2 separate regions of the Homo sapiens genome follow, and region 1 is linked to region 2. Evidence: promoter capture Hi-C in 16 types of primary human blood cells and fetal thymus (Javierre and others, 2016). All regions are on one chromosome and are shown on one strand. The core of a region is centred on a gene start or on the middle of the fragment in contact, and the rest is flanking DNA. Distances in the headings are between cores, read along the strand shown.

Region 1 (5,660 bases), core at 161-2,660, 1.1 Mb after region 2:
GATAAGGATAATGGCCTCTAGCCCTCCATTCATGTCCCTGCAAAGAACATGATCTCATTCTTTTTTACGGCTGCATAATATTTCATGGCAAAACTTAAGGTGTATTAAAAACAATACAACTTCTCTGAATAGGTAAATCTTACTTAAACAGATTATGTTCTAAAAATTCATTTTATGAAAAGTATTTGGAATTTAAAACCATGTCCTCATTAAGAGTGTTATAATTTGATGGTGGGCTTGTCATGAAAGTCTTTGGAATCCAGTGTACCTGAAATATGAATAAAATACATTGCCTGGATCCATAACCCTCATAATTACTTCTGAGCCCCATAGACCCCTGGGAAGTGGAAGTGGTTGTTACTAGGGTTGATTTGGGGACATGGCGAGGCTAGTAGGTGGGCAGGTTTATTAGTTTCCTAGGGCTGCCATACCAAATAGCACAAACTGTGAGGGCTTAACACAACAGAAATGTATTTTCTCATGGTTCTGGAAACTAGATGTTCAAAATCAAAGTGTCAGCAGGGCCATGTGGGCTCCCTCTGAGGTTCTGGGTAGAATCCTACCTTGCCTCTTCCTGCCTTCTGGTGGTGGCCATCAATCCTTGGCATTCCTTGGCTGGCAGCTTCATCACTCACCTTCTACCTCTGTCATCACTTGACCTTTTCCCCCATGTGCTGCATCTTAGAAGGATGTTAGCCATACTGGGTTAAGGACCTCTCTTACTACAGTATCATCTAATCTTAACAAATTATATCTGCAATGACCCTATTTCCAAATATGGTGACATTCTCAAATACTGAGGGTTAGGACTTCGACATATCTTTTTGGGAAACACAATTCAACCCATAACAGTGAGCAACTGGGAAGCTGCAGAAGGGCAGAAATCTATAGAGTTCTGGGTTCTCCAATGGCTGCTGTGTTACTGGCAAGAGCTTAGAGACCCCCCGTTGTTTGGATGTGGGGATAAGGATTACTCATAAGTCAACTAATTCATGAATGCTTCTATTTTACAGGTCACAGTTACTTTGAGTGGAAATAAACAAATAAGAAAATTCTATATTTAAAGAAAATTGCCTTCACAATCAACAACATTTTTATTTGAACCATGTCCTAAAAGCTTTCATTCCTCCTCTGAGATTCTAACAATATCTCCATCAGTGTGAACTACAATATTAGGAAAAGAAGAGGATAACTTCAGGGGAGAATTAGGCAGAAAGCAAGGTGTGTTATGTAACACCTGGGAGGCTAAAGAAAGAGGCTATTGACTGTGAGCCAAATTCAACTCTCAGCACATTGCTCCTAGGCAATGGACAGGAGTGTATGAGTGGCTGAGAGCAGGGCTGAGCTTCGAAGCAAATTACTTTTTCTACAAATGCTCTTTTATTTCTAAGCTCACTTCAGTGCAGATGTGTCTCCTTCATAAGTGAATCTTAAGGATCAATTTATAATCTTGGATCCACACTGTGGATATTGTGCTAGTCTTTGTCAACAGTAAATTTTAAGACAAGAAAGTTCAGAGAAATAGGGGATTAATATTAAGGCGGCTTTTATTCTTCATTAGTTTCTTACAGAAATATTATTTCATGTAAAAGGAATCTTGGTGTCCTAGTTTATCTTTTTCTCATCGTTTAACAGGTATAATATTAAATAGAATTAAAATCAGGAGTAGTATCACATGCTTATATCACCTTGTTATATTTTAGCAAGCTTTTGAAAAAGTCGAGCATGCACAGAGAAAAACTTAAAAGAGTAATAAAGGTATGTGCTGAACAGTCAATCTCCTTCTCACCCAAACATCACATATTCTTGTTTTATCCTTGTAAGAAATATGAAAAGTTATTCCTTTTAATGTTGCTTTCATTTTGAAGTTGTCACTCCTGCTTCCTAGCTGGTAGGACTGGTGTGGCAAATTGCTTTTCCAGAAGAAGAAAATGGTTTACTGATCTTTTTGGTCATCAAGATCAGGAGTTTAAAAGATGGTGGTCAGGGTGAGGAGTGGAATCCATGCAACCAGGAGAAAACCACGAACTGTGACTTTCTCACCTGGGTCATCTGCATGTTGTACCCAGAAGTCGGGAGAAACGACATTCAGGAAGATATGCACACATTAAAATTGGAATGGGAGAATTCTCCAGAATATGAAATTTCTCTTCTCATTGGAAGAAAAGGAAGAATGGGCCTGAAAACTGTCCTTGTTTGGATGGAAACTTAAACAGCCTGTGTTGCAAATAGTCCTCATTAAAATGCCCCCTGTGTGCTTTAGTTCTCCTGAAAAAACTACCAACACCAAGGTAGGGTCAAACCGGCTCAATAAATTTTAAATGATATTAATTATTCCCATGCAACTCCATAACTCAGTTTCTGGCTTAAAACCGTGAAACTTGCTAAGGTCTTTTTTGCTCCTGCAGCGTGGACCCTAGTGAAAAGGCATTATAAAAGGTTATTGCAGTCAGGTCTGTGAAAGACCTGTCGATTGAGAGGGAAGAAAATGCAAGTAGACATTATAAAAGATTACTTTCTGTGCTGCTAATGATCACTTTTGGTTTCAGTTTTCCTGAATGTTCAGGAAAGAAAGAGCTCACAGGAAAGGAATTTATTGCAAAAGAATAATTGCCCAATACATTACATGGCACGGTAGGGTTATAATGAGCATGAGGAAGGGCAATATCTAACCAACCCTTGGAGTTACAGTAATAGTTTGATTCAACTTCCTTATACAGACTGCTGAGCAACCAGAGAGCCAGAGAGGTTTTTTCTTTTCTTTTTTTTTCTCCCCGAAGAATTGGACTGCAACTGTTTTGAAACTTTCTTGGGGGAAATGCAATTATTGACAAGATTTAATAAAGCCAAGACAACTGAATGTGATGAGATGAACCCCTATTCTTTTGTTCTTTCTATGCAATGTAAGAAAATAGCAAGAAAACGATTACATTATAACTAAATGAATTAAACAAAGCTCCGAAACATAAATTAGAATTTAACTATGCCATTAAAAACTAATTTAATTTGCAAGGCATCATTACTAGGTAATAAAGACCCATTGCAAAATGTACAGCAATATCTTGTGAACATGTAAAAAAAAAGTGATAAATCTCATTGAGCAGATGAGTTTCTGTTGCATTAGCAGATACAAATGCTGAATAGATGTTTCAGTATATAATGAAAGCTAGCAAGTAATGGAACGATTGGTTTCGTTAATTTTTTTTTTTTTGCCGTAAATGGTTTTGTAGTTAAGGAAAGGCCTCAGGGAGAGTTGGAGAAGCACAAATTTGGTGCATGGACTTGGTGCCATAAAATCTGCTCTCAAACCAAGACAAAGAGAAGACATTTAAATATTTCGTTTGACAACATATGAAATATATTGTAGCCTACTTCATTCAAGTGCAAACAATATCTTGTTTCAGCTAATTGAAAATCTGATGGAAAATACAGTCTTTTCCCTAAAGTGTATCTTATTCAATTGTGTTGGAAATAACAAGGTATATATAACAAATTCAAGAGATGTGAATAAAGAATTTCTTCAGTTCTGGGGTTACCAGTTTAAAACTTACTAAAAAAAAAAAGCATTAAGTTTTTTATCCGATCAGAATAAGATGAAATAAAGTTTCAGAAAATTCATTTCATCGGAAATGAGTTTTAAATGTATACTTTCTAATAAAACAGCTAACGATAAGCATTTCCGCTTCTGTCTGTACTATTTTGCCTGAGCCTGCAGGTAGAATCCAGTATCATTTTACTGACAGCCATCATCGAGTACTGCCAGGAGATGGCAGTAAAACTCCGCTTTTCTAATCCAGCCTACGCTAGCGTCTAAAATTATTGTAACTTTTTTTTTAATGGGATCACAGCATTAATATAAGGTGGAGATGAAAACTTATGTATTCCCCCGGTTGTGTTATTTCCTCTGAGGTTGTGCATTGACTTTGTGTTGCGATTGGACTTTGGCTCATCCACGTAATTATGCTCCCAAATAGAGTTTCACAAAAGGTCACGTGCTACATTATTGTAGGAATGATTTTATTAAATTGCTTAGTGAGTTGATGCAGTTAGACGTGTTCATTTATGTTTTACATTCCGTCATGAAATCTTAATGTTAAAAAAGTTAACACTTTGTTTAAATGTCATCTCATCAATGCAGCATTCCGCAAATTACCCCTCTGAGCTAACACCCGTCTTCCATGCCGCATTTACCCATTTACAAACCTAGAGACTAGAGCTTCCTGCTTCACCTTGAGATTTTCTGTTTATTTATCTGCTGTCTCATTCATTTGTAAGCTTCTCAAAGGCAGGTGTTACATTTTGGGTCTGAATCGCTGGTAGTTCTCCACCCAAATGTCACTTTGTAGTACTCAAAAGAATGTGTTGAACTAACTCAAGTCTCATCTGAAGGCTCAGAGGAAGTGTGTTTTTAATATATTGCTCTATTTTATAGAGCAGCGAAGTGGTGTATTTAAGGACAAGTCAGGGAATCTTGGCTTACAAAATGAAGCCAAAAACTCCTAACTTTAATTTTGCTGAGCACACAAACAAGAAACTTTACTGACTGTGGTAATTAATAGAAAATGATATATTGAGTTGCATTGCCCAGCTCTGAAATGGGGCCACTTTCTAACATATAACTTTCTTACAGTTCATTACCAAGAATGAAAAATTTTAAATCTAATGAAATGGCAGGGGAGACAGAATGTCAATACTAAGGTGAAATGAACCTTTAAATGCAGAATTATCAATAAATGTATTATTGATTTTGGGAGAGTAGTCATAGATACAGTCATTTATTTGTGAAGCCACTTACTTTTTGTAAATGATTTATTGCAGATGAAGTGAGGAAAGACTATATTTTATTTCAAAATTATGGATGCAAAGAGATGAAATAATTATCCAAATGATCTTTACGCAGACTACATTTCCTTTATTTATATTACTTTTAATGTCGTAGCATTCTTTAATATATTATGCCCTAAATGACTCCTAAAAGTTCCTAAGTTAAAAGGCTTCGTCTCTAAACTATTATTAATAAGGAAACATTTACTGAGCCCCCGGGACTTTCAGATGGAGAACATTTCTCCCACCACTCAAGTTTACTTGTCTTTACAACTAGATTTACTGGCTGCACACAGTAAAGAGGAATGTCTGTGCTCTGCCTCCCCCATTCCTCATTGCAGTAGACTCTTGCTACTACTAGTTCTAGGATCTTCTTGTCTTCCGAAGAGATGGATTCTTCCTGGCACAAGATTTTCCTGTCAGCACTGGGAAGACAGTGTGGAGTGCAGGGCCCTGGGTGCCATGCGCCCTGCTGGCGGCTCTGATCGCTTATTACTTATGGGGTGCTCTCATTCACACACTCCTAGGTTTAGGCTTGGCAGGTCTTGTTGTGCCATAATTCATTTAAATGTAATTCATAAGAGGAAAGGAGAAGGCAGCTGAATGTGAAGCACAGACACAGCCCTTCTGCATTTGAAAGTGTTGTGCAATTTATTCTCAGTGATGTGGATTCACACAGGCCCAGTGAACAGTTAAAGCTTTGTAAAACCCTCTATTAAAGAGAGGAAAGCTGAGGTACCAAAGGAGTTTTATATATCAGTGATTTCCTTGTGGTCGAGATAACAAATGAGGATGATAATTACCTACTTATCTATGTTTGTTTTCTAAGGACCAAA
Region 2 (5,479 bases), core at 550-3,049:
TATTCCAATGAACAAACTACAAACCAAAGCACTTCTAAAATATCTTCCAGCTATCAAGCACTGAAATCAGAAGTATATATTTTTAAGTGTCAATAAATCTTATACACCTACAGATTAAATTAAGGAGAAAACCAGCTTACTTCCAGACTGCCAACCCTATGACTTTAAGGCTTGGAGGTACTCTCTCCAATAACAGGTCACTTTAGGTCTCTAATTTAATTATTTATTCTTATTGTAGTCACCACTTTTTTTTAAAGCTTAGTATTAATCAGTGCACAACCAGGATGCACAATGTTGCTCAACTGTATGATATACCAACAGGTTCCATGAGTCTGGGGTTTATTAACATAATCCAAAATGTATGCTACAACCACACTGTAAAAAAAGGGCGTCTAAATCAACTACCCTACACAAAGTTCCCTGAAAACAAAGTTCTCTCAAAACAAAGTTCTAAAAATCTTTAACTTGCATAACTGGCACATGGGGGTATAAATCTACAACTCTTCTAAGTTTTTTCTCCTTAGTTCTGCTAAGTGAAAACACAAGTCATTATCAACGTGTACTTGAAAAGAGAAAAAAAAAGAAAAAAGAAACCAGAGACACGCCTGCTGGGTATAGGAGCTCCACCCCCAAAACTCAAGGTGAATATCCTTACCAGTCTTTAATAAGCTCTGCATTCTGGTCTGTTCTCATCCCACATACCTTGTTAATCATGGAAAGCAACTCCGAACTAAAACTGGTTTAAAGAGAGTCCGAGGTGTTGCTTATACGTCTGGACTTCAGAGACTGGAGGGTTGGGACTTTACATGCCCCTAAACGTGGCCTTACGGAGTAATACAGCGAGGGAAAAAAGGAGATCAGTGGCAAAAAAAAAAAAAAAGGGGGCAAGGAAAAGAAAACGGTGAATTACAGAGCCCAAAACTTTAGTTTAGGTCCCAACTTCAGAAATCTCCCTTCCCTGGTGCCCCATCCATCCCAGGAATCAGGAGACTCAAAAAAGGTTAAGGGCCAGCGTTGACCTGTGACAACTAAAACGATTTTGAAAAATCCAGCCAAAGAAACAAAAAAAAAAGGCTGCGAGGAGAAATGGGATGGAAGAAAGATGAATGCTGAGAGCTGGTCTCTGGGGCGCCACCGGGGACCCTGGTTTCGGGGGAAGAACTGGAGGTGCCCGTAGCTGCGGGGGGACGGTGTGTGTGTAGGGGCGGGATGGGCCGTCCCAGGTGCGGCGGCCGAGGCGCGGGGGTCCCGGAGACGAGAAGGCTGGGCAAACTAACCCGGTGCCCAGAGGCCTCCCTGTCCGAAGGGGGTTGTGCTTCAGCTGCAGGGGGTCCTTCCCCTCCCCTTCCAACTCCTCACCCGGGCCGTAGAACTTGCTGCCTTTGGTCACGTCGAAGACTTTCCCATTGACCGCGAGCAGGATGCGCGGGTTGCGGGAGCCGTCGTACTGGCGCAGCTGCTCCAAGCTGAAGTCCCGCTTCTTCATGCGAGGCAGAGAGGTGGCGGGGCTCTCCTCGCCCGCCCCGGCCCCGGCCCCCAGACCCCGCCGCCCCCAGCGCACCCACAGCCGGTAGGCCCCCAGCAGCACCAGAGCCACCAGCGCCACGTTCAGCAGCATTTCCCCGCCCCCCGTCAGAAGCGCCAACGCCGCCGCCGCCCAGCCTCCCCCTTCCGCTGCCGCTCCCGCGTCGCCTGGACTCTCGCTGCCGCCGTCGTTGCTGCTCTCGCTGCCACTCCCCAGGGTGCCTAGCTTCACGTCCCCATCACCAGCCGCCATCACTGCCCGCCAGCGCCTTCCTCCTCCTCCCCGCCCCCTGCCCTCCCCAACCCCACGGCCGGCCCCGCCCATCTGGGGGCCTCTCAGCCAATAACGTGAGAAGAGGGGGCGGGGTCAGGCCGGCTCCTGATTGGGTGTTGACGGGGTAACGTTGTCTCGGATCTCCCGCCCCCTCCCTTCTTTCGCTGGCCGCGCACGCGTGCAACGCCCCGCCCACCTCGCCCCACACTTCCCTGCTCTCACTCCAAGCCTCCGCTAGGTTAAGTAGACGAGCCGGGCGGGTCTGAAGAAAAGATGCTACGACGGCCGCGCGGACGCTCATGGGCGGGGCGAGACCACAGCGCGTGCGCGGGCTCCTGAGCGCCACGCGCTCGCCTTTCGTTCGTAACCCCTGCGGGAGGCACGCCCCGCCCAGTCTCCAGGCTCTGCGCGTGCGCCCTGGAATCGCTTCCCTTCCTAGGCCTGCGTTCGCGTCCGCAAACTCCCGCCTCCTTGCGCTCCCCCCGCCCGGGAGCTTCACGTGCGCCTTGGCGGCCGCGGGGGCAGGTCCGGGCTGGACGCCTGGCGGAGGACGCGGGCAGGTGGCTTGTGGGAGGCTGGGGCATAGTTGAGCTGCAAGGCGCAAACCGATGAGGGGCGTCTGCTTTTCACCAGGGCGCCGTCGCTTTTGTCGGGAAACCGGCAGCGTAGGCGCGCAGACCGGGAAGCGGCAAGAAGATTTGGCCACGAGCTGGGGTCTTCCTGGAACGGAGAGAAAGCACGGAACCCGCACCGGGCTTCTCTGGCATCGGCAGTCTACGTGCTCCTCGCGCTGGCACCGAGCAGCCACTCCCCGCTGGGTTTGGCAAAGGCTGCTCTTGTAGAATTTTAAAGGATTTAGAGTCTCATTATTCCTTGAATCATAACTTCTGCGGCCGTAGGGAAGTGGACAGGTTGAGGTGGTCTTTCTATTCGTCATTCACTCTTATTTGCAGGTTCTGTTTCATGTACTTGGACGTCTTTTAGCCTCTCACACCTTGAAATTCTAGTGTGAAAAAGTGACCTCTGAAGTCTCACGCACTCAACTCGTTTGACGAACTCGTTTGACGTGTTCTCTCTTGCCCTTTGTTGTCTGTTGTCTTGAGTCTCATAGAATAGGTTTGAACCTTTCACTGTCGGTTTTGTAGGAGTCACTGAGGATATTGACGAGGCAAGTGACAGGGTCGACACTCTTGTAGAGAGGCTGTATAGCAACCAGGTGTCTGAAGGATTAGAGGCTGGGGAAAGAGTGGGAAAGCAGTTAGTAGGCTAGGGTATTTGTGCGTGAGGTGAGGAGACTCAGAGCTAGGGGAGACATTAGAGCAGGGGTTGGCAAACATTTTTTGTAAAGGGCCCGATCATATTTTAAGTCTCTGCCTTAACTACTCAGCTCTACCTTGTAACGAGAAAGCAGCCATAGACAATACTTGAATGAGTGTAGCTGTCTTCAGTAAAACTATGGACATTGAATTTTTAATATAATTTCAGGTATGAAATATTCTTTTGATTTTTAAGAAAATCATTGAAATATGTAAATTTTTTTTTTTTTAGTTCTGGAGAGGTGCAAAAACAACTTATAAGCCATATTGCTGAGCCCTGCATTAGAGGTACCTGAGGGAGAGCGACACAATTGGTAGTAAATGACCATATACTCTATCCTTCAATATGGAACACTTTTGGAAGTAAAGTAGGGCATTAATAATTATAGCCAGAGACCAGGAGTTATATCAGTTTTATCCCAGGCAAACCTAAAGGAATAGTCACCTTAAGGTTAAGGGTTAGGAGAAGTCAAAATTGCTTTAGGACTTGGTAACAGAAAATGGGAGGTGCCAGTGATGGAAATAGGAAGATAAAGAAGAAACTGGTTTTGAGGAGAAGATAGCTGTAGCAGTCCCAAGAGCTGTATACAGTTGAGACAACATTGATAGGAAGGAAGAAAGCACCCCAGAAGCAGGCCACTCCTTATATCTTATTGACCAGAACTGGGCTATTAGCTGTCCCTAAAGCAGTAACAGACAAGGAGCATGGGACATCCATGATTGCCTAGTGTTTATCTGGCTTTTTTAATTCTTATTCAGGACTGTGTTGAGCATTGCTGGACATTTACCATCTCTGGTTCCTTCCAGCTAAATGTCAGTACCACACCTCAGGCATTGTGACACCGTAAATCAACCGTTTTTCCCTCCCACCCCCCAGAGGTGTGGTACTGGTTGAGAACCAGTAGCTTAGACCCTCAGGATTTACCTTGGGGCTGAATTAGTGTGTGTAGGTTTCTTTTCCAGTTGGTTTGGAGGGAAGAGAGGAATTGGACAGTATTAAAGTTCTGCTGTCAAGGAAGTGGGCTGGGGAATGTTGGGTAGCTAACCAACATTGGCTGCCACGTGAAGTAAAAAAGTTTTCCTTTATATCCTTGATAAAATAGTGTCTCGACTTCTTCACACTTGAAGCCTTCCCAAAACCCCAGCTTTTTTGATTCTCATTGTAAGCCCCTTGAACTGGACTAGTTGGAAGTTCTTATTTTCCACCCTAAGTAACAAGCTCTTGTCCCAATAGGATACTCTTGCTTTGAGTACTGCAATAACTTTCCAATTGGTGACTTGCCGTCAGTCTTTTCCTATTTCATTCCTACACGAAGAGACTAGAACTGTGTTCTGATTTCCTTTGCTCAGACACCAATCTCCAGGGGTGCTCTGTAATTTGAAGAGGACAACTCAGAAAGCACTCAAGGGCCTCCATAAGTCCCTGAGTGGCTTCCCTGCCTTCCCGTTCCCCAGCAAACAATCCCTTGGATACCCTCTATTAAATGATACGTTTCCCCTTACAATACCTAGTCCCTTGCCCCATATATGCTATGTGTATTGCACAGTCTAGGACTTGACTCATGCTGTTTCCTCACGGAGCATGCCCTTCTTATTTCTAACCATACAAATTCCATGACCTATCCATTCTTTCAATTCTACTTCCACCTGAGGCCTCTATCAGCCCACATTAACCTACCTTCTTTGAATTTCTGTGTGTTCCTTACCTGTACCACCCATTTTGGCCTTTTATTTTATGCTCTTCTTGACTATTCTGTTATTGAAACTGTCCTTTAGATCCCAAGATTTCTACTTTTTCCCTGCGGATGCTTTTTTATTTTTTTTATTTTTGACTTCTTTCTACCCTCCTTTTCCTCTTACATCCCTGCTTTGCCTAGAGGACATCTACAAGAATCGTCATGTACATTCTTTTCTCCTGTTGTTAGCTTTTTTCCCCTGACACTTCATCTATTTACTGATTTACTTGTAAATCTCTGGAAGATATTAGTACTAGCCACCAAATATTTCTATTTCTTTTTCCACACACGTAGATTTGGATTTCCCTACTCCTTTTACCTCAAGAATGGCCAATGAAATGTGATTGGAAGTGACTTGTGTCATTTCCAAATAAAAGCTTTAAGAGCCTGTGGACATTTATCCTGCGCTGTTTCTTCCTGCCAACAGTGATGAAATATTTTAATTATCTATTGTCCCATGACAAAGCACCTTAAATCTTAATGGTTTAAAACAGTCACCATTTTATTATGTGTAACAGTTTTGTGGGTTGACTAGGCTCATGGGCAGTTGTCTAATCTTGCTCAGGGTCTCTCATGTGGTTCCAGCCTGGTATTGTTTGGGGCTGGAGTTTTTGGAGGCTCAACTAGGT

What was found. The method cuts DNA at HindIII sites, captures the fragments that hold promoters and counts their contacts. A CHiCAGO score of 5 or more calls a contact.
Region 1: a fragment that was not itself captured here is called in contact with the fragment with the promoter of PGRMC2 in region 2 in 2 of 17 cell types (monocytes and M1 macrophages); the score reaches 7.4 in monocytes.

What each region holds. Positions count from the first base shown.
Region 1 is chr4:129,340,402-129,346,061 of GRCh38, forward strand. No RefSeq gene overlaps it. Among named protein-coding and RNA genes, the nearest start is that of C4orf33, 250 kb to the left of the region's middle. The HindIII fragment of the contact is 590 bases long and covers 1,116-1,705 here.
Region 2 is chr4:128,286,014-128,291,492 of GRCh38, forward strand. It overlaps PGRMC2 (progesterone receptor membrane component 2), which reads right to left and starts at 1,800. Exons shown (of 3, transcript NM_006320.6): 1 at 1,360-1,800. The coding sequence starts at 1,777. RefSeq lists silencers at 1,440-1,499, 1,680-1,729, 1,740-1,919, 2,240-2,429, 2,801-3,095. The HindIII fragment of the contact is 4,970 bases long and covers 256-5,225 here.